7 separate regions of the Homo sapiens genome follow, and regions 1, 2, 3, 4, 5 and 7 are each linked to region 6. The links are contacts of gene promoters, found by promoter capture Hi-C in blood cells and fetal thymus (Javierre and others, 2016). All regions are on one chromosome and are shown on one strand. Each heading gives the region's core, a stretch centred on a gene start or on the middle of the fragment in contact. The rest is flanking DNA. Distances are from core to core; before and after follow the strand shown. Region 1 has its middle 24 kb from the start of PGBD4. Region 2 holds the start of AVEN (apoptosis and caspase activation inhibitor). Region 3 overlaps AVEN (apoptosis and caspase activation inhibitor). Region 4 overlaps KATNBL1 (katanin regulatory subunit B1 like 1). Region 5 overlaps CHRM5 (cholinergic receptor muscarinic 5). Region 6 holds the start of AQR (aquarius intron-binding spliceosomal factor). Region 7 overlaps KATNBL1 (katanin regulatory subunit B1 like 1).

Evidence for each region. Contacts are between HindIII fragments. The CHiCAGO score rates a contact against its expected background, and 5 or more counts as called.
Region 1: a contact is called between a fragment that was not itself captured here and the fragment with the promoter of AQR in region 6, in 1 of 17 cell types (non-activated CD4 T cells). The highest score is 7.4, in non-activated CD4 T cells.
Region 2: a contact is called between the fragment with the promoter of AVEN here and the fragment with the promoter of AQR in region 6, in 9 of 17 cell types (naive CD8 T cells, non-activated CD4 T cells, total CD4 T cells and 6 more). The highest score is 10.0, in naive CD8 T cells.
Region 3: a contact is called between a fragment that was not itself captured here and the fragment with the promoter of AQR in region 6, in 2 of 17 cell types (naive CD8 T cells and total CD4 T cells). The highest score is 7.1, in naive CD8 T cells.
Region 4: a fragment that was not itself captured here is called in contact with the fragment with the promoter of AQR in region 6 in 1 of 17 cell types (total CD8 T cells); the score reaches 5.3 in total CD8 T cells.
Region 5: a fragment that was not itself captured here is called in contact with the fragment with the promoter of AQR in region 6 in 4 of 17 cell types (non-activated CD4 T cells, fetal thymus, naive B cells and 1 more); the score reaches 8.8 in non-activated CD4 T cells.
Region 7: a contact is called between a fragment that was not itself captured here and the fragment with the promoter of AQR in region 6, in 7 of 17 cell types (fetal thymus, total CD8 T cells, monocytes and 4 more). The highest score is 12.0, in fetal thymus.

What each region holds. Positions count from the first base shown.
Region 1 is chr15:34,123,649-34,127,781 of GRCh38, forward strand. No RefSeq gene overlaps it. Among named protein-coding and RNA genes, the nearest start is that of PGBD4, 24 kb to the left of the region's middle. The HindIII fragment of the contact is 3,958 bases long and covers 130-4,087 here.
Region 2 is chr15:34,037,783-34,041,775 of GRCh38, forward strand. AVEN (apoptosis and caspase activation inhibitor) reads right to left here and starts at 1,422. Exons shown (of 6, transcript NM_020371.3): 1 at 998-1,422. The coding sequence starts at 1,264. All of the region lies in intron 1 of CHRM5 (cholinergic receptor muscarinic 5), which reads left to right. RefSeq lists silencers at 395-454, 805-864, 955-1,164, 1,345-1,514. The HindIII fragment of the contact is 8,272 bases long and covers 1-3,993 here.
Region 3 is chr15:34,019,379-34,023,415 of GRCh38, forward strand. All of the region lies in intron 1 of AVEN (apoptosis and caspase activation inhibitor), which reads right to left. The region is part of intron 1 of CHRM5 (cholinergic receptor muscarinic 5); the gene reads left to right. Among named protein-coding and RNA genes, the nearest start is that of AVEN, 18 kb to the right of the region's middle. RefSeq lists enhancers at 3,089-3,589, 3,590-4,037. The HindIII fragment of the contact is 3,153 bases long and covers 1-3,076 here.
Region 4 is chr15:34,188,795-34,192,381 of GRCh38, forward strand. The region is part of intron 1 of KATNBL1 (katanin regulatory subunit B1 like 1); the gene reads right to left. Among named protein-coding and RNA genes, the nearest start is that of KATNBL1, 20 kb to the right of the region's middle. The HindIII fragment of the contact is 542 bases long and covers 1,475-2,016 here.
Region 5 is chr15:34,062,078-34,065,822 of GRCh38, forward strand. CHRM5 (cholinergic receptor muscarinic 5) reads left to right here. Exons shown (of 3, transcript NM_012125.4): 3 at 566-3,745. The coding sequence starts at 641. The coding sequence ends at 2,239. It also overlaps a transcript of AVEN not described here. Among named protein-coding and RNA genes, the nearest start is that of AVEN, 25 kb to the left of the region's middle. The HindIII fragment of the contact is 4,430 bases long and covers 1-3,526 here.
Region 6 is chr15:34,968,111-34,971,661 of GRCh38, forward strand. AQR (aquarius intron-binding spliceosomal factor) reads right to left here and starts at 1,632. Exons shown (of 35, transcript NM_014691.3): 1 at 1,429-1,632. The coding sequence starts at 1,503. RefSeq lists enhancers at 1-257, 1,426-1,575, 1,626-1,735. The HindIII fragment of the contact is 5,969 bases long and covers 607-3,551 here.
Region 7 is chr15:34,203,916-34,207,982 of GRCh38, forward strand. All of the region lies in intron 1 of KATNBL1 (katanin regulatory subunit B1 like 1), which reads right to left. Among named protein-coding and RNA genes, the nearest start is that of KATNBL1, 4.1 kb to the right of the region's middle. The HindIII fragment of the contact is 1,731 bases long and covers 1,928-3,658 here.

The DNA.
Region 1 (4,133 bases), core at 859-3,358, 840 kb before region 6:
TTGTCTCAAAAAAAAAAAAAAAAAAGGAACTATTATTATTATGTTGACTAATTACTAGATGATTTCAGTGTGACCTTGCTGTGATTAATGCAGGATTAGAAACAGGATCAACTTAATATGATCATATTAAGCTTTCTGTGACCATATATTTGTTCTGGAAAGGGTGAAACATACAAGTGTGTATATTATACACACTACAAACAAATGTTTTATCTATTTTAAAGTAAGTAATTATATTTAGTCTCTTCCATTCTTAATGTGTTTATATCACTTACAAAAATACTTCCATATCACATAGGGAGATCATTTTACAGAAGAAAATGAATGGCATGAGATGGCCACCTGTTTCATATTCTAGGCAACACAGCAGTCACAAGCTATGGAAATCCAAGATTTAGGAGACTGGTTTTATATCCTAAGCCAAAGTTATCCCTCAAAACCAGAATGCTTTTTAAAAATAAAAATAGTCTTATGGTGATGAAGGCATATGTCTATAATACCAGACCGAAAAGTGATAATAGTAATCAGCAAGCAGAATTAACCACAGTTTTTTTAGTTATAGTGCTCTGGCCTATTACATTAAAATGAACAATTTTTCAGATAAAGAATCTTCAACTACATTTCCAGTGGAGAAATTCAATTGCCCTATCCTAGACTTATGCAACTCTGGTTCTCAAAGGTCCCTAATTTTTATCTGTAAGAACAACTTTTTATTTCCTAGATACTTTATGATTCCAAATGGGTAGGGGTAGGGGTGAGGCGAGGGCAGAAACTGTCCCAGAAGTCAGCAGTGAAGTCCCTGAACAGAGATGGACAGTGCTGATGATAGAGTCGGTCAGCTCCCTACTTTTGCCCTTCTCTTGGAGCTGGTCAGAGGCATAACCAATATGGTGAGAAAAATGGCTTTCATGCAAGATCTACTGGCAGAGATCCTGATGGGCTGCTGGAGGTCCCCTGGGTTTATAATTATCAGCACACATCTATGGAACAATGCAACTGTAAAGCGTACTGTGCTAGGTACCCATACAGAATAAGTACCTTACATTAATTCTGCGACAAAATATGCAGTCTTACAATTAATGATCCATGTGTGAGGGAGTGAATCCTAATGGCAGTAACAGAGGGTTTGCAGATATGCTCATTGACAGCATGGCAGGGTCCTGTTACAGGAGTTCTATTACGGAATGAATCTTCTCTTGATAGAAAAACAGGTGCTGGTTGGTGGCTACAGCCAAGAAGGATGAATGACTGATAGGAACAGGCACCTGGGTCTCGTCTGAATATTCTAGTTTATTTTAAACACCCAGTAGCTCTTTGTTCCTTTATTCATTTATTCAACAAATTTTTATTGAACATTTCTTATTATATTTAGGTTGCACAGAGCAGGGAGCTGGAGTTACAATGGTGAGTTAGACAAACATTGATCCTACCTAAGAGGCTACTGACAGGTAAATAAGTAAAATTTAGTATAGCCAATTATACTTATGTACCATGATGGGGGAAGAACAGGATACACTCAGAGCACAAAGAAGGGGCACCCAACACAAAAATTTGAAGAGAAGAACAAGCTAAGACTTGAAGATTCAAGAAAGAGTTATTTTCAGAGAAGGTGGGAGGATGGATGAAGGGAAAAAGGCAGAGACAGGAGTGAGTGTTCTCCGCAGAGAAAAACAGTAAGTTTGAAGGCCTGGACTGAAATTGCAGGGTATGTCCAACCAAATGGCCCAAGAGTACCCTGGCATACGGTGGAGTATGTATGTGTGTGATGTTGAGATGAGATGAGGGTAGAAAGCAAAGCCAGGAACAAGAAGAAGCTAGTGGCCAGGCACAGTGGCTCACAATGGTAATCTCAGCACTTTGGGAGGCCAAGGCAGGAAGATTGCTTGAGTCCAGGAGCTCGAGACCAGCCTGGGCAACATAACGAGACCCTGTCTCTACAAAACAAAAGAAATATTAGCTGGGCAGTCCCTGCTACTCAGGAGGCTGAGGCTGAAGGATCCCGTGAGCCCAGGAGTTCGAGCTGCAGTGAGCTATGAGCTATGATTACATCAGGGCACTCCAGCCTGGGTGACAGAGAGACCCTGCCTCTTAAAAAAAAAAAAAGTAACATACAGTAATTTCTGAAATTACTAAAACTATACAAGGTGCCAGGAAGTTCCAGTTAGGTCACTAGCAGCAGTAAGTTGATGTCATTAAATCTGAGCAGATTCTGTGTAAAGTTGAAGAGTGATGGGCTCTTCGGTTTCTATGCTAGCTATTGATGCTTCCTCCCTGTATCCTGTTAAAGCCTATCTATTCCCAACTAACTGTAAAATATAAGGAACACAGCAGTTTCGTCAATGTGAGTAAGAAAACTATTCAATTAGTAGACAACAATAAAGGAATTCTGTCCACAGAAAGCCTATAAAGTATTTGAACAAATTTGGTATTTGATATATATTGCCTGAACTACTAGCCTAAGTGCAAAGATCATGTTTTCCCAGATTCCTCCAGACTGAAGTAATCAACCCTTAACCAGCTGCAGCCAGCAAAAATAACATAAACAAAAACAACAAACACAAGCATACTCCTTCCACTCACATGCTTTATACTACTTTTTACTTAAAAAAAAAAAGTGTATCTTCCAATAGAGTCCACAAAGCCTCAAGCAGCAGGAACATGTAATGGGGTCTGTTTTGTCTGTTTTCTATGAAGGCATGATTTTACATATCAGCATTTATGTGCATAACAATCTGTCGGCAACAATACACCTGAAAATTTGATTTGGAGTTTGTAGTTTCCCAAACTTTTGTGTTGATACAGACAGAAAAAGTGAAGTAGTAGGAGATTCTAAACAGCTCAACCCAAAGAATTTCATCCTCAATATGAACAAAAGAGAGTTGCCAGAGGGCCCCTAATTATGCTTATTTCAGGTGCCTCTCCCCTTCCAAAAACATGTCATTTAAAGTATTTCAAATTATAATTACTCTTCTTGAAGAGTAAATGACAGATCCCTGGGCTTTTCATGGTGCTGTGACCCTCCTGACCTAGACTACCATCCTTCACTCCTCTGCTGGAGTAGGTCACATGGTGATGGGAACCTGGGAATCCTCAGGAAACAGGCTGGGAGAGGGCTGCCTGACTGCAGCAGGAGAATGTTCTTGTCTCAATTTTCATTCTGCCATCTCAGGGAGAGAAGCACCCTAACAGCTTAATCCTTATGTTAAAACCTCAGCAAAACAAAAAAACAAAACTAAGCACAAAAAGACTGCAGCCCCTTCTTTAGAGAGAATTCTGATGCCATTCTATTTTTTTTCTTTGTTCCTTGCTCTAATACTCAAACCAGGAAACACTAATTTGTAGCACTTTTCTGTCTCAGTGGTGCACATACACCCACCAAAACCAATTATAACTCAAACTGCAGGCTCAAACTCCTGGGCTCAAGCGATCATTCACCTCAGCCTCCCAAGTAGCTAGGGGTACAGGTGCTCACCACCAGGCCCAGCTAATTTTAATTTTTTTTTGAAGAGACAGGGTCTTGCTATGCTGCCCAGGCTGGCCTTGAACTCCTAGGCTCAAGTTATCCCAAAGTGTTGGGATTACAGGCATGAATCACCATGCCAGTCTGCCATTAAGTTTTTCTTTCAAATAGCTTTACTGAGATATAATTCACATACCATAAAATTCACTTAAGTATACAATTCACTGGCTTTTAATATATTCAGTTGTGTATCCATCACAATTTTAGAACACGTTCATTACCCCCAATTCTATCCCCCCTTAGCTGTCACTCCCCAATTTTCCCATCCGTATATCCTTAGGCAACCACTAATCTGCTGTTTTTGTCTGTACATGTTTGCCTATTTTGGACATTTCATATAAATGGAATCATACAATGTGGTCCCTTGTGACTGGCTTCTTTCACTTAGTATAGTGTTTTAAAGGTTCACCATGTTGTAGCATGTATAGTATTTCATTCTTTTCATCGACAAATAATATTCCATTGAATGAATACACATTTTATCTTTCCATTAATCACTTATGGGCATTTGGGTGTTTTTCACCTTTTGGCCATCATAAATAATTCTGGTTTGGACATTCATACACAAGCTTTTGGGTGAACAGATTTTGATTTCTCTTGGTATTCTCTTAGG
Region 2 (3,993 bases), core at 172-2,671, 930 kb before region 6:
TTGCTGTATACAACTACTCTCTTTAGGGATATCTTATCTGCTATGCCCTCAAGATATTGTAAATACTTCAGTAAGAGCAAATTTTGCCTCATGCAAAAAAGAATTTTTTAAATCAGTGTGCATAAGAATGCAGAATATAAAGATGGTCTTGTCCTACAGATGTTAAGGTAACAGAACAACTCATAAAAAGACAGTCCTCTAACTCCTTTAGCTGAGATATGGTTAGCTTTGCCCCCATATATATCATCCCCTGCTCCAATCTCCAAAAACTTCCTTCTATGAATGTGTCAATAAGACTGATGATATTGCTATTAAAACTCAGAACTTGACTGCTCATTTATAAATTGAAAATTCAAAACGACAAAGCCCAGTGCTCGCTGATTTCTACACATACAGGCATAATAAAAGAGAACTACGCTATTACAAAGAACTATGCATCTGGTCCCGCCCCCAAATACTAGAGTCCAGTCGTAGGGGTCATTCTTTCACTCAACAAACTTTTTATTATGCGCCTACTGTGTACTAGGCATTGCACAGACAGTTAACAAAACAGACCAAAAAATCCTTTCCCTCCTAATAACAGGAGCGTGCCCGTAAAGGCTGCCGAGGGACCACGTCGTGGCCGCGCCTCCGTCCCATAGTGGTACTCGTACAGACAGCCCAGCCGGCCCACGGGCCGCCGAGACTTGCAGCCCTGACACACGGCCTTGGCCTCTGGGTTCCTAACCCGGACCCTGGGGCAGGCTGGGAAGCCCTCCTACCCCCACTGTCTCGCGCCAGCCCGGCCAGGAGGCCACGAGGGCCAAGCGCATACCCAGGCGCGCCCCCGCCACCAGGCGCGCCCCCGCGCCACCATCCGCCCGTCCCGCGCAGGCGCCGGCGCCGCCGCCCGTCTGGCGCGCGCCTGGCACGCTCTCTTGCGGCTCTTGACTGGCGGCCTCGGCCCCACTTGCCCCAGTTACACGCGGTCCCAGCCCCACCAGCCGTCGCCTCTTACCGGCGCGCTGGCCCCTGCGCCCCAGCCTCCCGGCTCCCGGCGGCTGCCTCGCGGGGCGCCTCCTCCTCCTCGGCCTCCGCGAGCGCCGCGGAAGCCCCGGCCACGGCCACGGCCCCGGCGTCCGCCTCCGTCCCCGCCGCCGCCTCCGCCGCCGCCTCTGGCTACCGCCGCTGCGGCTCCGGGCCGCTCGCTGTGGCGATCTCCGCCAGGCCGGCCGCGGCCTGGCCGCCGCCCACGGCCTCCCCGAGCTCCTCGCTCCGCCTGCATCTGGCCGCCGCTGGCGGTGCTGAGCGCGCGGGAGCCGAGCTGCGGCGGAGACGCCCTGGCCCCACCGGAAGCGGGCCGCACGGAGGAGCCGCGAGCGAAAGGCGCCCGGTAGCAGCGAGGCGCGGGGTGCGGGGCTAGGGATCGAGGCCGGCCGCAGCGGAGCGGGGCGGGGCGGGGCGGCCGGCGTCCCGCAGGTGGGGCCGGAACCGGGACCGCGGGAAGGCCGGACCGCTGGGAGCTGGAAGTGGTGGGGGTCTGCAGCGGGGCGGGGGGATTCTCAAGGCATCAGAGATAGGTTGGGGGAGAGACCGTGCTAAGTGCAAGGACGAGTCATAAAATAAAATTTGTATGATGTGAACTCTCGGAAAAAAAAAGTTTAAACGTATGTATTTGCATAAGAAAAGGTCTAAACAAATACATACTAAAATGTTAGTGGTTAACTGCTGAGATTTGAAGTGAGTTAATTTTTTTTCCTCCGTTTAATCTAATTTTCAGCAACGAATGTGTATCATTTTAAAACTATACCGAAGTCAGGGTTCAGGAGGTGTGGATGTAAAGACAAGAGTTTGTGTCTGGTGAGAGGTGGACTGCAGCACGTGGGAGAGAGAACAGTGCGAAACTGGGAGATGGCTAGAAAGGGCGTCAAAGTCCTCAGCAGAATTTCTGTAGAAATGACTACTACAGCTGACATTTATTGAGCACATGAGTATTTCATTCTCATAACAGCTCTATGAGGTAGGGATGACTGTCATCCTTATTCTGCAGTGAGGTAACAGCCTTGGAAAGGTTAAAAAAAACTTGACTAAAGTGAATAACTAGGTAGTGGTGGAACTGGCATTCTAAGGCGGTCTCACTCCAGTCCCTTCTTTCAACCAAGGAGAAAACAGGAAGGGGAACAGTTGGTTACACAGATGCATGAAAGCAGTTTTTAACTTGGGACTGAAACCACCTGAAAATAATGAAAGCAAGGGCTAAAATGTCAGCCTAGCAGAATAAGTGTTTTCTTCCCCCTCAGTACTTTCTGGTTCTTTCCTATATCCATACATAGTTAATACTTTTCATTGCTTCTAATTGCCTACTCTGCATCAGGCACAGTGCTATGTCCTGAAATTAAAAACAAAAACAAAAAAAAAACCTTGCCCCTGCCCTCAAGTAGCTCACTGCCCACAAGGAAGATAATCTAGTCGTGTGAATAGATGATTACAGTACCGTGTTGCTGAGTGCAGTGAGAGATTCAAGATCAAGGTCCAAAGAAGAAAAGTTAAATTATATTTAAACGGGTTACCCAAGGCTTCATGAGAAATAGACCCCTGAGCTAAAGCCTAATGGTTGAGTAGGAGTTTGCCTGGTTGGTAAATGGGAGTAGGGGCGCCTTCCAGACAGGGGGAACTATTGAAGGATTGTCAACTCCAGAGAAACAGTCTTAAAAATAGTAACACTTGTAGAGCACTTATATGCACCAAACACTATTCTACATACTTCTCATATCACTTCATTTGGGACTAATAGCTGGCCTACGAGGTAAGCTAGTGTTGTCTCCATTTTACAGATCAGGAATCTAAAACAGATGTTAAGTAACTTCCAAGATTACACAGTTACAGGCCAGGTGTGTGGTTCGTGCCTGTAATCCCAGCATTTTGGGAGGCTGTGGCGGGTGGATTGCCTGAGACATGAGTTCAAGATCAGCCTGGGCAACATGGTGAAACCCCATTTCTACAAAAATTAGCTGGGCATGGTGGTATATGCCTATAGTCCCACTACTTGGGAGGCTAAGATAGAGAATCATTTGAGCCCAGGAGGTTGAGGCTGTAGTGAGCTGTGATTGTACATGGGCAACAGAAGGAGACTGTCTAAAAAAAAAAAAAAGATTTCAACATGAATTTTGAGGGAGATGAACATTTAGACCATAGCAGTGGGGAAGGGGCATGGAAGAATATGGTTAAATATCTACCAGCATATCACTGGTCTGGCCTCTCACCAAGTTGAAGATCCACACATTAATCTCAAACTAGACATTTGCACAAATCGGAGTTTCTCAATGTTGGCAAATTTAGGGCTGGGTAACATTTTGTGGCGGTAGCTTATCCTGTGCATTGTAGAATATTTAATAGCATCCCTGGCCTCTACCCACTAGATGCCAGAATGAACCCCTCTCCCCCTCATTAAGACAACCAAAAACATCTCCAGACATTGCCAAATGTTCCCTGAGAGGCAATCACCCTGGATGAGAACCACTAGCACAGATAGATTGGTGCAAAAGGTACGTTTTAGTATCTAAGGAGCTACCGATGTAATTTATCCAAAAATTTATCCAGCCTTAAATTTGCCAACATTGAGAAACCCTGATTTGGGCAAATGTCTGGTATGAGATTAATATGTACATCTCCAATGTAGTGAGAGACGAGACCAGTGGGAAATAGGGCTTTAAGGAACTATATAACTATCCCTTGAGAAGCCTCCAAAATTATGAGGTTGAAAAGATCAGTGGCTTGCAGATTAAGCCAGTGTTATTAGGGCACATTCACTATGCTTGATACTTTCAACTAGTCAGTGTAAGACTCAGTAACACTTTTGAAAGGTATGCCATTTTAGAGAGAGATTGGTTTGTGGATGATGCCAAGTTTTTTTAACACTTATTTTGCACCTGATACTATTCTAAGCACTTTCCACGTACTAACTCATTAAATCTTCAAAATATCCCTATGAAATAAACACTATTATTATTCCTA
Region 3 (4,037 bases), core at 250-2,749, 950 kb before region 6:
GTAAAAATATTTAAAAGTTTATAAAGTAAGAAAATTACAGTAAACTAGGGCTAATTATTTAAAAAAAGCATAAGTTTAGTGTAGCCTAAGTGTACAGTGTTTATAAAGTCTATAGTAGTGTACAGTAATGTCCTAGGCCTTCCTATTCACTCACCACTCACTCACTGACTCACTCAGAGCAACTTTCAGTCCTGCAAGCTCCATTCATGGAAAGCACCCCATACAGGTTTACCATTTCTCATCCTATACACAGTAATTTTACTGTACCTTTTTTATGTTTAGACACACAAATACTTACCATTGTGATATAACTGTCTACAGTATCCAGTACCGTAACATGCTGTACAGGTTTGTAGCCCAGGAGCAATATGTTATACCATACCGCCTGGGTGTACAGTAGGCTACACCATCTAGGTTTATGTAAGTACCCTCTATGGTATTGCACAATGACAAGTCACCTAACGACATGTTTCTCAGACTATATCCCCATTAAGCAATACATGACTATTTATTGTAGCAAAACTTAGAAAAATAGAATTGCAAAGTCTTAAGCAGTTCTTTTGTATGCAATTACATTTTAATGCATACAACAAGTTCAAAAGAGTCTTGATTTTTTAAACACCTTTTCCATGCCTCAAAATAGAGGTTTTAGGCTGGGCGCAGTGGTTCACACCTGTAATCCCAGCACTTTGGGAGGCCAAGGTGGGTGGATCACAAGGTCAGGAGATCGAGACCATCTTGGCTAACATGGTGAAACCCCGTCTCTACTAAAAATACAAAAAATTAGCCAGGCGTGGTGGTGGGTGCCTGTAGTCCCAGCTACTCGGGAGGCTGAGGCAGGAGAATGGCGTGAACCAGGGAGGCGGAGCTTGCAGTTAGCTGAGATCACACCACTGCACTCTAGCCTGGGTGACCGAGCGAGACTCCATCTCAAAAAAAAAAGAAAAAAAAATAGAGGTTTTAAAAGGATAGTGTTCTTTTCTGCTTTTAGAACTTTCTTACTGATGCCTTTACAAGTTGGTTGCACAATATAAATCCAAGGAGGCAAATTAGAAATTTGGTTGAAACAATACTATTTCTCTTAAAGCATGTAGATCATCTGGTTTAAGCCTCTAAGCACCTATCCTTGTTAACTAAAGGGTTAATGCCATCATCTGGCAGAACATCCCCTCTTCTCACACCACCTCACAATTCTGAAATGGATTTCAATTCTCACTGCACTTTCATTAGTACTTGCTCTGACTTACAGATGGGCAGCTGTAACTTCATAAAGCTATGTATGCCTTCATAAAAGCTCCTCATATCACATCATTCAAGCCCCTTGACTGAATTACGACCTTACTCTCCTTGTCATGAAAAGCTGTAAATGAAATTAGGCCAAATTTCGTAAGACACAAGATATAATCTCCACATAACTTTTTACTTGTTTTTATAAGAAAAGGGCCAAACTCCAGCCCTAACCAGTAAAAGCTGTTTGATTTGCCATTTTGTATTAAAAAACAAATGGACCTACCAAAATTCTCTTCCTTTTAAGCACCTACCTTATATGGAGACAGTCTATATGCACACACTGACCAAATGGTGAGGAATGAATCACTGGGCCATGCATCTGAAAAGTCTTTTTCTGCATATACACTTTACCTGACAGAAAATGATTTCATGTATGCTTCTCTAGCTTTCCAGCATCTGAAGCTCCTCTTTTGAATTTATTCTCCTTTTCAGTTCTTCCCCGATGAAGAGTCTATAAAATGCCTATCTTTTCTCATTTGTGGCCTGGGTGAATTTTTCTATGAAAAAATTGCATCTTTTTCTTTTTCTTTTTTTGGAGATGGAGTTTTGCTCTGTCGCCTCCCAAGTAGCTTAGGCTACAGGCACACACCACCCCACTCAGCTAAAAAATATTTTCTGTATCTTTTTTTTTTTTGAGACGGAGTTTCACTCTTGTTGCCCAGACTGGAGTACAATGGCGCCATCTTGGCTCACCACAACCTCTGCCTCCCGGGTTCAAGTGATTCTCCTGCCTCAGCCTCCTGAGTAGCTGGGATTTCAGGCACACACCACCATGCCCAGCTAAGTTTGTATTTTTAGTATATACGGGGTTTCTCCGTGTTGGTCAGGCTGGTCTGGAACTCCTGACCTCAGGTGAGCCACCGCGCCTGGCTTATTTTCTGTATCTTTAAGAGCACTTACACATGGCCGTGTAAGGTGGCTCATGCCTGTAATCCCAGCACTTTGGGAGGCCAAGGTGGGCAGATCATTTGAGGTCAGGAGTTTGAGACCAGCCTGGCTAAAATGGTGAAACCCCGTCTCTACTAAAAATACAAAAATTAACTGGACATGGTGGCAGGTGCCTGTAATCCCAGCTACTGGGGAGGCTGAGGCAGGAGAATCACTTGAACCCAGGAGGTGGAGGTTGCAGTGAGCCGAGGTTGCGCCACTGCACTCCAGCCTGGGTGGACAGCGCAAGACTCCATCTCAAAAATAAAAATAAAATAAAATAAAATAAGAGCACTTCCACATGGCAACATTAACATGAAAAAGAAGTGAGCACCCACAGCACTTGTGCAAGCAGCATTCTTAAAGTCCATAGAAAGCAAATGACAACTACTGCAAAATTTGTACTTAGAGAATTCAAGTGCAAATATTTTGTAGATGGAATAAGACGGCATTGTTTGCAATAAGGACAAGTACATGCATTATATTTAAAACCTACTCCTGCCACACAATGCATGACATTTGAAAGCTGTTTGGCTGGCATGCCCTTCTTTTCTAGCTGAACTGCTTTCTATTGCTCCTCAGACATCAAATGAATGGCATCATGGCCCCATGTTAGCAAAAATTCCTTCTTTCCAATCCTGACAATTTTAACCAGAATGGAGAAATAAGAAAACATTTTTCAGAGGCAGAACAATTAACAAGACAATTTTCCCCATGACAAGACAGAATACTACTATAATCTGCATCTCCCTTCTGCAGCTCTTTTCAATTGTGACCTTTAGGAAGCTCTCCCAACATTAGGGAGGAAAAAATATTTAATTAAAAGAAAGGGCAGCAAAGGCGCCTACAGAAGGGAGAAAGCTTTTACCTTGTATTAGAGAAAGGTGGATTTTCTCAAAGCTCCCCATCCATCAGAACAAAATGCAAATCCCAGGATCAGGACTACGCAGCAGGAAGGGTACACAAACTTTGAGGCTGGGCCACAGCCTGACATGCAAGCCTGAACATCTGCATGCTGGTAAAATTCCCTTGGAGTTAGAATACTAACATTATGGTTGCCTTACACCTTTTGCATAAGTATGAGATTATCTCTCTGCTTCACAGAATTTTAAAGACTCCAAGGATTCTGCCCACTGTGATTAAAAAAGGAAAGCATTCCCCCAACACACACACACTCTCCAGCTTACATTTTCCTGACCTTCTGGCTGGAAGGATGAGATTTCTCTTGGATTTTTGCTACCTCTGTACCACCACTGCAGCTCTGCTGAAAGCTTGCCTTTGGCTCAAAGCCAGATAGAAAAGAACAATGAGGCCGGGCGCGGTGGCTCACGCCTGTAATCCCAGCACTTTGGGAGGCCGAGGCGGGCGGATCACAAGGTCAGGAGTTCAAGACTAGCTTGGCCAACATGGTGAAACCCCCATCTCTACTAAAAACACAAAAATTAGCCTGGCGTGGTGGTGTGCGCCTGTAGTCCCAGCTACTCAGGAGGCTGAGGCAGAACTGCTTGAACCCAGGCAGAGGCTGCAGTGAACTGAGATCGCGCCACTGCGCTCCAGCCTGGCAACAGAGCGAGACTCGGTCTCAGAAAAAAAAAAAGGAAAAGAACAATGAGAAACTTACCCCTCTCATCCCCCACTCAGGTTGCTACTCCAGGCTTTCACTTCACAATCTGCCAGCTTTTCTTTACTTTTCTGAGTCCTCAGGTAATCTGCCCACTGAGTTTGGTTGCTATCAGCAAAAGAAATAGGCTGTGGTGGGCTAACCTCATCTTGGCCGAGTCCTCCCTAGTAATCTTAGTAACAGTTGTTGCGGCAGCATC
Region 4 (3,587 bases), core at 496-2,995, 780 kb before region 6:
GCATTCAAGAGTCCTTTTCATGAACTCCCCAAAGAAGTAAGCCCAGCATTATAACTGACTGTCAGCTGCTTTTTGGAAAGAATCAAAGCAAAACAATTAATGACAAAAATCTCAGGACAGACACAATTGACAAGGACATTTGGTTACTTTTGTGGCATACAAAAATGTAACAAAGACGTCATTACTGACATATTAATAATAATCAAGACATCAGAATTTTAGGAATTTCATACAACCTGGAACACATTTTTTTTTGAGACAGAGTCTCGCTCTGTCGCCAGGCTGGAGTGCAGTGGTGTGATCTCGGCTCACCACAACCTCTGCCTCCCGGGTTCAAGTGATTTTCCTGCCTCTGCCTCCGGTGGGATTACAGGCATGCGCCACCACGCCCAGCTAATTTTGTATTTTTAGTAGAGATGGGGTTTTGCCATGCTGGCCAGGCTGGTCTCGAAGTCCCAACCTCAGGTTATCCGCCCGCCTCAGCCTCCCAAAGTGCTGGGATTACAGGCGTGAGCCACTGCACCTGGCCCTGGAACACATATTAATACCACATCTATGTAAGTATAATCCAAAGAAAGTTAAACACCACCTCGCATTTGATAATGCCTCCTTGTATAAATCTAACATCAAATAAGTCTAATAAGTCTCTCTTGGACTTCAGGGAACCCAATATCCAAAAAAGTTTGAGGCAAAAAGACTGAACTTAGAACTTGCAATTTTGCTTTCGGAAAGTTTGTCAAATATCAAAGGTTTAAAAAACTTGATATCACAAAATATGATCATAGGTCACTATAAAATAGTCATTCATTTAACCAAAATGAAAAAACAAAAATGTTTACTCTTTGATAGAGAGGAGACAGTTTCCTAAACAAAAAGACTATAAAGACGGCACAAAGCTAACTAAATCTGTCTCTTCCCTCTCCTTTGTTCCCTGCAGTTTACTCAAAAAGTAAACAAAAATATTTTATTATCTCTTATTAATATTACACACAAATTCTGTTCAAAAGAGAAAATCAAATGTTACCTTTGTATGTTTCAGTACTGCTATTTTAGGGTTCATTTCTTAAACAATTAAAAGGAAGTGTATGTATTCAATCCAGCATGTACTGATTCAGCACTACTATGTGTCAAGAGATGAATAAGAAGTACATTCTTTTTTTTTTTTTTTGAGACAGAATCTTGCTCTGTCTCCCAGGCTGGAGTGCAGTGGCACGATCTCGGCTCACTGCAAGCTCCGCCTCCCGGGTTCATGCCATTCTTCTGCCTCAGCCTCCTGAGTAGCTGGGACTACAGGCGCCCGCCACCACACCTGGCTAATTTTTTGTATTTTTAGTAGAGACAGGGTTTCACCATGTTAGCCAGGATGGTCTCGATCTCCTGACCTCGTGATCCCCCAGCCTCGGCCTCCCAAAGTGCTGGGATTACAGGCGTGAGCCACCGCGCCCGGCCTGGAAGTACATTCTTATTTCTAAGAAGCTTACAATCTAGTGGGGACGAATAACAAGGAAGCCAATGAATATGAATAATGAGTGCTATAAAAGAGGAACAGATTACTAAACAGGTTACTAAAAACGCAGAAGCAGTTCATCTAATTTAAGAGGCAATGAAGCATCCCAGAATACACCTTGGGTCACAGTAGACACACTGGTCCCGAAGACAAACAGGAAATTGTAAACATGAAATAAAGGAAAGCTGTCTAGTTAAGCAACCACAGTAAAACTCTTGTATACTCAAAATTCAGAATCCAGAGCTTTCCACATTTCCGAATTTCCAGTTCTTCTCCAGATATGGTTCCTCAATTTGAGCATCAATAGAAAGCAAAAACAGTTAAAGAAGGTAATGGGAAACTTTACAATGGATAAATCAGGTTGACAACATCTAAGACACTAATCAATTTTAGCATCAAAAAAAGAGACAACCAGACATTATATGAATCCTGATATGATACAACAGGAAATATTAACAACACTACTAATAAATATTCTTGCCAAAAAAAATCAAACCTGAACATAATCAAGCTTCAACTGCCTGTTACCAACTACCAGTTTAATGGAAATACAGAAGACACAGGAACCTGTTAATGCGACCATGAGGATGCAATTAGAAAAATCCAGAAAACTTTCTTTGGGATAGATGACTCAGTGTTCTCAACAAACGCTTTGCAAGAAAATAAAATAAGAGGATGAGGCTACATATTAAAAGACACTTCAGGACTATATCAACTAAATGCAATGTTTGGATGTTGCTTAGATCCTAGTTTAAAAAAAACAAAACTTAAAATGTATATCCTCCCCAACCACTTGAATGTATTTCTGTCACTATAGTTTGCCTTTTCAAAAATTTCATATAAATCATAGACCATATATATATATATATATATATATATATATATATTTGGTAGGGCTTCTTTCACTTAGCATAACTAGTTTGAGAATCATCCATGCTGTTGCATGCATGTATCAATGGTCTATTCCTTTTTATTGTTAACAGACTGTTAACATAACAGTCTATTAGGTGGCTATACCACAATTTGTTTATTCACCTACTGATGGACATTTGGGTTGTTTCCATTTTTCACTATTATTAGTAAAATTACTGTAAGTCATGTAAACTTGTATGAACATATGCTTTCATTTCTCATGGGTAAATACCCAGAAGTGAAATGGCTGGGTTTTATGGTAGGTGTATGTTAAACTTTTAAAGAAAATTGCCCAACTGTTTTTACAGTGATTATACAATTTTACATTCTGATCAGCCGTGTATGAGATAGAAGAATTATTATTAATCATTGTTAATTATTTTTAGTTGAATGGTAGTGTGGTTATGTGTTTTTTTATTGTTGTTGTTGAGAGTCTTTTAGAAATCCATCCTGGCTGGGCGCAGTGGCTCACACCTGTAATCCTAACACTTTGGGAGGCCGAGGTGGGCGGATCACGAGGTCAGGAGATCAAGACCATCCTGGCTAACACGGTGAAACCCCGTTTCTATTAAAAACACAAAAAATTAGCTGGGCGTGGTGGCGGGCGCCTGTAGTCCCAGCTACTTGAGAGGCTGAGGCAGGAGAATGGAGTGAACCTGGGAGGCAGAGCTTGCAGTGAGCCGAGATTGCACCACTACACTCCAGCCTGGGCCACAGAGCACACAGTGAGACTCCATCTCAAAAAAAAAAAAAAAAAAAATCCATCCTACAGATAAAATGAGATTACATTTAGGATTTGCACAGAATAGGGAGTATCAACGAAGTAAGATATGTTGATAATTGCTGAAGCTGGGTAATTGTAAAGTTTATTATACTATCCTCTCTGCTTTTTTATATGATTAAAAATTCAGTCAGGCGCAGTGGCTCAAGCCTGTAATCCCAGCACTTTTGGAGGCCGAGGCAGGTGGATCACCAGGTCAGGAGATCGAGACCATCCCAGCTAACACGGTGAAACCCTGTCTCTACTAAAAGTACAAAAAATGAGACAGGTGTGGTGGCACGTGCCTGTAATCCCTGCTACTCAGGAGGCTGAAGCAGGAGAATTGCTTGAACCCAGGAGGCAGAGGTTGCAGTGAGCAGAGATGGCGCCACTGCACTCAAGCCTGGG
Region 5 (3,745 bases), core at 62-2,561, 910 kb before region 6:
CGTCTTCCCAGCCCTTTTTAAAATTGCCACAAGAGGGCAGCAGCCTCATGCATAAGAAGGGCACTCAGCCATAGGTAACAACAAAAAGCAAAAGGATGCCATTAAAAATAGGTGATCAAACTTTAGAGATTTCAGCATCTTGCTCTGAATATGTGTGCAGCCACGTTTAATATTCCATTAGAAACTATAAACAATGGGCCGGGCGCGGTGGCTCACGCCTGTAATCCCAGCACTTTGGGAGGCCGAGGCGGGTGGATCACGAAGTCAGGAGATCGAGACCATCCCGCCTAACACAGTGAAACCCCGTCTCTACTAAAAATACAAAAAAATAGCTGGGCGTGGTGGTGGGAGCCTGTGATCCCAGCTACTCGGGAGGCTGAGGCAGGAGAATGGCCTGAACCCGGGAGGCGGAGCTTGTAGAGAGCTGAGATCGCACCACTGCACTCCAGCCTGGGTGACAAAGCGAGATTCTGTCTCAAAAAAAAAAAAAAAAAAAACTATAAACAATGGATGGACAAGAAAATCATGCTGGTGTGCGAAGCTAATGTGTTTCCCTCTCTTCCAGATGCTGGCCAAGAAGAGCTGAAATAGAAAACAGCCTAGAACCTAACACTATTTACTGTAAAATTTTTGCACCAGGATGGAAGGGGATTCTTACCACAATGCAACCACCGTCAATGGCACCCCAGTAAATCACCAGCCTTTGGAACGCCACAGGTTGTGGGAAGTCATCACCATTGCAGCTGTGACTGCTGTGGTAAGCCTGATCACCATTGTGGGCAATGTCTTGGTCATGATCTCCTTCAAAGTCAACAGCCAGCTCAAGACAGTTAACAACTATTACCTGCTCAGCTTAGCCTGTGCAGATCTCATCATTGGAATCTTCTCCATGAACCTCTACACCACCTACATCCTCATGGGACGCTGGGCTCTCGGGAGTCTGGCTTGTGACCTTTGGCTTGCACTGGACTACGTGGCCAGCAACGCTTCTGTCATGAACCTTCTGGTGATCAGTTTTGACCGTTACTTTTCCATCACAAGACCCTTGACATATCGGGCCAAGCGTACTCCGAAAAGGGCTGGCATCATGATTGGCTTGGCCTGGCTGATCTCCTTCATCCTCTGGGCCCCAGCAATCCTCTGCTGGCAGTACTTGGTTGGGAAGCGGACAGTTCCACTGGATGAGTGCCAGATCCAGTTTCTCTCTGAGCCCACCATCACTTTTGGCACTGCCATTGCTGCCTTCTACATCCCTGTTTCTGTCATGACCATCCTCTACTGTCGAATCTACCGGGAAACAGAGAAGCGAACCAAGGACCTGGCTGACCTCCAGGGTTCTGACTCTGTGACCAAAGCTGAGAAGAGAAAGCCAGCTCATAGGGCTCTGTTCAGATCCTGCTTGCGCTGTCCTCGACCCACCCTGGCCCAGCGGGAAAGGAACCAGGCCTCCTGGTCATCCTCCCGCAGGAGCACCTCCACCACTGGGAAGCCATCCCAAGCCACTGGCCCAAGCGCCAATTGGGCCAAAGCTGAGCAGCTCACCACCTGTAGCAGCTACCCTTCCTCAGAGGATGAGGACAAGCCCGCCACTGACCCTGTCCTCCAAGTGGTCTACAAGAGTCAGGGTAAGGAAAGCCCAGGGGAAGAATTCAGTGCTGAAGAGACTGAGGAAACTTTTGTGAAAGCTGAAACTGAAAAAAGTGACTATGACACCCCAAACTACCTTCTGTCTCCAGCAGCTGCTCATAGACCCAAGAGTCAGAAATGTGTGGCCTATAAGTTCCGATTGGTGGTAAAAGCTGACGGGAACCAGGAGACCAACAATGGCTGTCACAAGGTGAAAATCATGCCCTGCCCCTTCCCAGTGGCCAAGGAACCTTCAACGAAAGGCCTCAATCCCAACCCCAGCCATCAAATGACCAAACGAAAGAGAGTGGTCCTAGTCAAAGAGAGGAAAGCAGCCCAGACACTGAGTGCCATTCTCCTGGCCTTCATCATCACATGGACCCCGTATAACATCATGGTCCTGGTTTCTACCTTCTGTGACAAGTGTGTCCCAGTCACCCTGTGGCACTTGGGCTATTGGTTGTGCTATGTCAATAGCACTGTCAACCCCATCTGCTATGCCCTCTGCAACAGAACCTTCAGGAAGACCTTTAAGATGCTGCTTCTCTGCCGATGGAAAAAGAAAAAAGTGGAAGAGAAGTTGTACTGGCAGGGGAACAGCAAGCTACCCTGAAAAGTCAACAACTCCTCTCGAAAGAACAATGACCACAGTCAACATCCTCTGAGGATGAGCAAGCTGATTCTGGTTTGTATATTTTCAAAAAGAAGACATCTCATTTTGAGTCCTTGAAGATTTTTGTAAAGGCTCAAGTTTGGTTGCCAAATGGAAGGGGCCATAGCTGCAGCAATTGCTGACATATTAAATGACTCTTGCCTATGACCAAGGCCATTTGATGCCAGGGGAGTTTGCCAATGAAGTAAAGGGATAGGCTCATGGCCCTTCACAAGAGGAAGCACACTGGGTAACAATGAACAGTGACTCAGGGAACTTATGCCCCTTCTGTAGGAAACAGCAGAGACCAGGTGGAAACCTTTTCCTGTGGAAACCTGTCATAGAATTTTGTGCAATATGTATGTGTCTATGAAGCTGTCTTGTGCCAGTGAGAACCAGCAGGAGAATGTACAACAGTGTCACTTGTTAACGAGACTGATATTCAACAGGCTTCTAAGAATATGTATCTTCATAAACTGATCACTATCTATTATGCAGCTATTATGTGGTCTATACTATACTGTGGTTTGTTTTCCTGTCCCCACATCTGAGTGAAGGTCTTGCTCTTCCCTTTCATATCCAATGTCAATTCCTTGTACTCACTGAACCCATGCTGATCTCCAGGGAACCATCCTTCCTCTCAGAATCCAGAGTCTGGAAGGACTGAAACCTGGTCATACCCAGTCCTTTCAAGGGGCCTCTTTTCTACTAATAAAGATGGATCAAGTCTCCACAGTCAGTTATTTTAGTTTTTGCCAGTGGAAATTTTTTCTTTTATCTAAACAGATATTGTGCATTCTATTTTGTGCCCATTTGAACCCATTTATTTATGCTCTGTTCTTAGGAAGACTAATTGTGTAAGAGCCCTTCACTGGCTGAAGATTTTCTCCAGGCTGTTGAATTAAGGTTCTTATATTGTTTTCAGAGATCTTGCTTTCTAATCTCTTCACAGGGCAAACCTGAGCAAAATGTGGAAAACAGATTTGCTTTTGAATTTCTTCCAGAGCCCTTTTGCAGCCTCCAATTTCCCTTGTTCAGATCCCCAGTTCACACCAAGACGCAAGCAGGTCAGCTGTGCTGCCTCCAAGCAGGGGGTTGTGGGGTGAGGTGGGGGTAGAAAGTCTTTTTTTATAGGTCCTTCAAATCAGGGCCTAAAAATGACTTCTTTATTCCTCTCCAAATTCGGTCACAAATGAGAAGGCCAGAAAAGCACACTTGAGGGTGCGATGAAGCTGAAAATGATCTGAAAGCTTCATTTTTAAAAACAAAGTGTAGGTCATAGTAATACATAAAAATAAAACAGTTGACATGCATGACAGCATGAGGATTATTAAAAACCACACTTAATTGAAATCTCTAAGTGCGTATAAACAAACGGAATCAAAGGACCTTTGTGGACAAAAGTCCACAAAGAAGCAGTAGTGTGGTACACAGCAAGGATTTTAAAGATGAAGCACTCCTGTCAGA
Region 6 (3,551 bases), core at 382-2,881:
CTGAAGATTTTAAGGACAGCCAGCCTTAGTGTAGTCCCTGTAGTCCTAGCTACAAGGGAGGCTGAGGTGGAAGGCTCACTGGAGCCCAGCCAACATAGTGAGACCCTATCTTGAAAGAAGAAAAGGAAGGAAAGGAAGGAAGAGATTTTTTTTTTTTTTTGAGACGGAGTCTCGCACTGTTGCCCAGGCTGGAGTGCAGTGGCGCGATCTCGGCTCACTGCAAGCTCCGCCTCCCGGGTTCACGCCATTCTCCTGCCTCAGCCTCCCGAGTAGCTGGGACCAAAGGCACCTGCCACCATGCCCGGCTAATTTTTTTTCTTTTTATTTTTAGTAGAGACGGGGTTTCACCGTGTTAGCCAGGATGGTCTCGATCTCCTGACCTCGTGATCCGCCCGCCTCGGCCTCCCAAAGTGCTGGGATTACAGGCGTGAGCCCCTGCGCCCGGCCGGAAGGCAGAAATTTTAAGAAGGCAAGTGATATGATGAGATTTGCACTTGTATGAAATCACTCGGAAAGCAACATGAAGAATGGGCTAGAGCAGAGCAAGAGGAAGGACAATATAACAGATTACGATACCTTGGTCCAGGCAGAAAACAATGGCAACCAAGCTTAGGGTGACAGAGATGTAGAACACCAGATAGATTCAAAAGATATTTAGAATGTAGAAATGTAGGGACTAAGGGAAAGGGAGGATTCAAAATCACTCCCTAGGCTTCTGCCCTGGCAAATCTGTTGAGACAAGGAATAAAGAATAAAGAAGCAGGTGGGCATGATAACTTCTACATTGAACTACTTACACTCTTATGCAATTCACAAATAAATAATAAGAATGAGGAATGATGCTGACAACCACAGGACTGTGGTTCCCTATCCAAAGCCAACTGTGGCTCACAATGCAAGATAGTAAACAGATTCTAAATGAACGCTCTCAAACTACAGAATTACTCTGTTTTTAGATAGGTCTATTTGGAGGTGTCTTGTCAGTTTCTCATCGCTGCTCAAAAACTCAGGACACTCTAAGGACCAGGAAAAAGCCTACTCCTACTTGAAGAGGCAGTCCAGCATCACTCTGCTGCGAAGCCTACTTGCCAGTCTCAGATAGACTGGGGTGTTCCCTCCTCTCTGAATCCATTGCTCCTGAGACAAACTCCAACACAGCAAAACTCATACAGTAGTTTTATTTTCATGCGTCTGTCTTCCTTGGGCCATGAACTCCCCAGGGCAGGGCAGCTTCTTTCACCACGGTATGCCCAGCACCTAGCATAGTGGCCGGCACGGAGCTGATACTCAGTAAAAAGACGTGTGTGAATCAATTAACAAACGAATGCCTCCTCCGGACTCCTAAATCCTGAAAAAAAACCCCACCACCAGGCCTCGGGGCCACGACGTCCATACCCACTCACACACACCAGACTCGCCCGAGCTCACCTGGGTCACGAACTCCGCATTGATTTGGGACACCGTAGGGGCCACGATCTTCTTGGGCTGCGCAGGGGCTGCCATGGCAGCACTCTTCCCTCCACTCCAGTGGAAACTAAAGGACCGCTCTGGGCAGCGGCAACCCTGGTCCACTTCCCTTAAGTTACTGCCGGGGCGCTTAACTCCGCGCCGCACAAACGCTCCGGGCCGGATATCCTCAGCCTTCAGAGTCCCGTAGGGAACCCGTACAACAGCCCAAGCGTTCCTCGGGAAGCGGAATGGCGTGTAGCCGGAAGTTCATGCAGGCGTTGGGGCTGAGCTAGCGAGCCAAGAGCTTTGACCTCCTCTGTACACGCCCTCTAGCGGGCGGCAGAGAGAAGACACCTCGCTGGCGGGATTAGGAGGGCAAGGGAGGGACCCGGTGGATGGTGTTGGGTGGGGTTTCTCGTGGTTAGTGAAGAGTGCCGTGTGCGGTGAATGGGGATTTAGTTTTTTTTCAACCCTAAAGAAAAAACAAAACAAAACAAAAAAAACAGCCTGGGAATATGGGCTGGGTTTTAACTGCCCTTAACAGTGTTTTAGTTTAGTTTTGTTTTTTTTGAGACGGAGTTTCGCTCTTGTTGCCCAGGCTGCAATGCAATGGTGCAATCTCGGCTCACAGCAACCTCTGCCTCCCGGGTTCAAGCGATTCTCCTGCCTCAGCCTCCCGTGTTGTTGGGATTACAGGCATGCGCCACCATGCACAGCTAATTTTTGTATTTTTAGTAGACACAGGGTTTCTCCGTATTGGTCAGGCTGGTCTCGAACTCACCAACTTTAGGTAATCCGCCTGCCTCAGGGTCCCAAAGTGCAGGGATTACAGGCCTTAACAGTTTTATGGAGGTAAAAATTGACATACAATAACCCAGCCAGGCGCGGTAGTCACGCCTGTAATCCCAGCGTTTTGGGAGGCTGAAGCTGGCCGATTGCCTGAGGTCAGGAGTTTGAGACCAGCCTGGCTAACATGGTGAAAACCCATCTCTACTAAAAAACAAAATTTAGCCGGGCGTGGTGGCGCGCGCCTGTAGTTCCAGCTACTCGGATTCAGGAGAATAATCACTTGAAGCTGGGAGGCGGAGGTTGCAGTGAGCCGAGATTGCGCCATTGCACTCCAGCTTGGTGACAGAGCGAGACTAGCCTCAAAAAATAAAAATAAAATAATAATAAAAATAATTCACATACAATAACCCACACATATTTAGGTTGTAAAATTTGATGCGTTTTGACATGAACATACATTTGTGAAACTATTGCCAAAATCATAATGAGCATATCAAAGCCTCTAAAAGTTTCCTCGTGAACTTTTGCTATCTGTGCCTTTCACTGTTCCCACCCACTTTTCAGGCAACCACTGATCTGCTTTCTGTCACTATAGTTTGCTTTTCATGGAATTTTATATAAATGAAATAATACAGTGCATGCCTTCTTTCACTCAACGAAATGATTTTGAGATGGATTCATGTTGTTGCATGTATCAGTAGTTCATTCCTTTTTTATTGCTTAACATTCGTTCCATTTTACTGATATACCACAGTTTGATAAACTATTCATCTGCTGATAGACATTTGAGTTGTTCCAAGTTCTCAGTTATTACAAATAAAGCCACTATGAGCATTTGTGTATAAGTCTTCATGTGGACATATACTTCCTTTGCTCTTAAATACTTAGGAGTGAAATATTTGGGTTATACGATAGGTGTGTTTGTTTGTTTGTTGTTTGTTTGAGATGGAGTCTTGCTCTGTCGCCCGGGCTGGAGTGCAATGGCGTGATCTCGGATCACTGCAACCTCTGCCTCCTGGGATCAAGAGATTCTCCTGCCTCAGGCTCCTGAGTAGCTGGGATTACAGGCAACGCGCCATCACACCTGACTAGTTTTTGTATTTTTAGTAGAGACGGGGTTTCACCATGTTGGTCAGGCTGGTCTTGAACTCCTAAGCTCGTGATCTGCCCACTTTGACCTCCCAAAGTGCTGGGATTACAGGCATAAGCCACTGCACCCGGCAAGTATATGTTTAAGTTTTTAGAAACTGCCATCTTTCTAAAGTAGTACTATTTTACATTCACATCAGGAGCATATAATTCTAGTTTGTTCT
Region 7 (4,067 bases), core at 1,543-4,042, 760 kb before region 6:
AAACACCTAATGTAGATGACGGGTTAATGGGTACAGCAAACCACCATGGTATGTGTATACCTATGTAACAAAGAGCACATTCTGCACACGTACCTCAGAACTTAATTAAAAAAAAAAAAAAAAAAGAGCCAGTGTGTGTGATTCACTCCCATTACCTTACCTCTAACCATCAACAGGTAACCAACAACAGGCCAGAAAGTTAAGACTCCCCTGTCCACATTGCTAAGCAAGGAAAACTAGGAGCACAGGCCCAGACAGCTCATGTGTAACATGAACTGAGGAAAAATAAACCTCTGAAATAAGCCACTGAGATTTGGGTGCTGTTTGTTACTACAAAATCACCTAGTCCATCCAGACTGATGAACTGTTCAAGCAATGCTGTGGGCACAGAATGATTCAGTCAGTCCCACTAAGTGGTTACTTGCAATGTAAACTGATGTCACTAGATATACATATTTAATTCTTTTCTTATTACAGTTGTCCCTCAGTATCTGAGTACGGCTGGTTCCAGGACCACCTCAGATACCAAAATTCGTGGATACTCATGTCCCCTAGTCAGCCTTCCGTATTCATGGCTTCCATACAGAGAACCCATGGATGCTGAGGGTAGACTGTATTACCTAGTTTCCAACAGGTCTGTCAACAAGGATCAAAAAAACTGTTTACATGGAGTTTTAAGGAATTCTTGTCTCTAATGCTATTTTTCACTAAATGGATAATTCACTCAAACAATGAATGCCACCCATACAGGCTTCTTGAAAAACCATCTGCCAGACTTTCTTCAACTGGAAACATACTTTGTAGGCAAGAATAACTGCTTTTTGTTTCCTTATTTTCTATACCAACTATTCAATAATTAAGTAATTATTGAGTACAGGCCACTGTAAGGGAAAAGAATAAAAAGGTAGTTGGCTAAAATGCAGAAGTCCCTGAATGCTAGGTCAGGAATTTGGACTTTATCTTGTAGACAAAATAGACTTACTGAGAAACTTTGTATACGAATTATATGTGAAAAAACTATTCTTGACGATTATTTATATGGCAGTTGTGGAACAGGAAGGCAAAGAGGGACAGTTTTTTTTTTTTTTTTTTCCTTTAAGATGGAGTCTCGCTCTGTTGCCAGGCCGGAGTGCAGTGGTGCAATATCGGCTCACTGCAACCTCCGCCTCCCGGGTTCAAGTGACTCCCCTGCCTCAGCCTCCTGAGTAGCTGGGGCTACAGGTGTGCACCACCACACCCAACTAATTTTTTGTATTTTAGTAAAGACGGGGTTTCACTGTGTTGACCAGGATGGTCTCGATCTCTCGACCTTGTGAACCGCCCACGTAGGCCTCCCAAAGTGCTGGGATTACAGGCATGAGCCACTGTGCCTGAAGAGTGCCAGTTTTTAAATGCTATGCCATGAATCCTCCATGGATGAAAGGCCAAATTTTAATCAATATATATAATTCATTTTTGCTACAACAGTAAATGTCCTGTTATTGATTATATTAAGTGTAGCACAGGGAATGGCTAGGACATAGGTTTTTGAAAGTAAGAGTAAAATGCATACTGAAATGTCAAGCTGGCACTTAAGTATGTGGTGATGGTCAAAATCTTACTCTGTGAGTAAGAGGGGCAGCCAGGGCAGTAATCGCTTAATAGTTCTGAAAGGCGATTAAGTGAACAATAGACACTTTGCTACTGCTGGGAGGTATTTTTACATTGTAGGAATGATGGGTTGTACTCTGGTTGGTTTGCATTTTGAATTCCTTCAAGATACTCAGAGCATCTGCGCAGTACTCCAACAAATTTTATCTTTCCCCAGCAACCCATTCCTTCATTTCTTCACTCGTTCAACAAATATTAAGTACATGTTACAGACTAATTACTATTCTACGCACTAGGGAAACATCAGTGGACCAAACAAAAATCCCTGCTGTACTGAAGCTTATATTCTACTGGCCTTTAAATTCCATCCTAAGATTTCTTCCTCAATCCTATCATATAAGTAGCTTTTAAAAATGCCTTTAGGAGAAATAATCTATGATTAATCACACTAAGATGTAAAAGACTATCCAGAGGCCTCTTCCCCACAGGTCTCCCTCCTCACCAAAGAACACCCCTCAATAAGTAACTATTTTATAGATTCTCGACCTTGGAGATAATTTCAGATGAGATTAAATCACTTGCCCAAAAACCCTTAGTTACTAACAGGCTTAGCGTTGCGACTTACAGTAATAGTGCCTTTCCCACTGTAACACCAAGCTGTGCATCTTAAGAGTATGCTAGTGGGCAGAGGAGATGCTAGAATGAGCATCTCATGACTCATACATAGGTGGTAGGTTTCTGGGTGACTTGCTCAAGGCAAAAAGAATTTCAGACAGTATATAAAACTGAAGGAGAGAGAGGTAGTTACAGGAAGCAAAAAAGGGAGTCCTTTCAAAATACCTTTTCTCTCATTTCTACCCTCATTATGCTCCAAGAACAAGAATGGTAAATATAACGCAGAAGTCTCCAAAGTTAAGGGGTATTAAGCTGGTAGTGAAAAAATACTTAGATGAGCAAGAAATAGTAAACACAGCATTTGAACCTGGCAAAGAAAAGTCAAATTACGCCGGGCATGGTGGCTCACGCCTGTAATCCCAGCACTTTGGGAGGCCGAGGTGGGCGGATCACCTGGGTCAGGAGTTCAAGACCAGCCTGGCCGACATGGCGAAACCCCGTCTCAACTAAAAATACAAAAATTACCCGGGCGTGGTGGTGGGTGCTTGTAATCCCAGCTACTCAGGAGGCTGAGGCAGGAGAATAGCTTGAACCCGGGAGGTGGAGGTTGTGGTGAGTCAAGATCTTGCCACTGTACTCCAGCCTGGGAGACAAGAGCAAGACTCCGTCTCAAAAAAAAAAAAAGAAAAGAAAAGTCAAATTACACCCTTCCAATTTAAAAAGTGTATGCTCCCAGTAAAAGTACCATTTGTATTAGGTTTAAGGTGTTTAATTAAAAAACATTATATTCCTAAATACATTTTCCAGAAAGCACCAAATTAACTAACATGGATCAACAAATATAATGATTGATAAAACATCAACATAATACTGACTAGTGTAATGTTATGATGCATCTTGTTGTTACTAGACAATACTTTTTTTTTTTTTTTTCCCTGAGACAGGGTCTTGCTTTGTCACCCAGGCTGGAGTGCAGTGATATGATCATGGCTCACTGCAGCCTCCAACTTCTGGACTCAAGGAATCCTCTCACCTCAGCCTCCCAAGCAGCTGTGACTACAGGCGCATGCCACTACACCTGCCTAATTTTATTTTATTTTATTTTTGAGATGGAGTCTCACTCTGTCGCCCAGGCTGGAAGGCAGTGGTGCGATCTCGGCTCACTGCAACCTCTGCCTCCTGGGTTCAACCGATTCTCCTGCCTCAGCCTCCCAAGTAGCTGGAACTACAGGCGTGTGACACCACGCCCAGCTAATTTTTTGTATTTTAAGTAGAGACAGGGTTTCATCGTGTTAGCCAGGATGGTCTCGATCTCCTGACCTTGTGATCCACCTGCCTCAGCCTCCCAAAGTGCTAGGATTACAGGCATGACCCACTGGCCCTAATTTTAAAATGTTTTGTAGAGATGGAGTCTTGGTATGTTGCCCAGGCTGGTCTCAAACTTCTGGGCTCAAGCTTTCCTCCTACCGTTGGCCTCCCAAAGTGCTGGGATTACAGGTGTGAGCCACACCAGTTCTGTGGCTGCACTGAAGTGCAGTGGCACAATCTCGGCTCACTGTAGCCTTGACCTCTTGGGCTTAAGCGATCTTCCCACCCCAGCCTCCCAAGTAGCTGGGACTACAGACACATGCCACCATGCCTGGCAAAATATTTTAAATTTTTTGTAGAGATATGGTCTCGCTATGTTGCCTAGGCTGCTCTCGAACTCCTGGCTTCCAGAGATCCTCCTGTCTTGGCCTCCCAAAGTGTTGGGATTACCAACCCTGCCTAGCCCCACCATCCACCCTTCTGTTCAGTGCCCTACATAAATCCTGCAATTGTTAGTTTTTCGCAGAAGCTTTACCCAGTTCAGTTCTGCATTC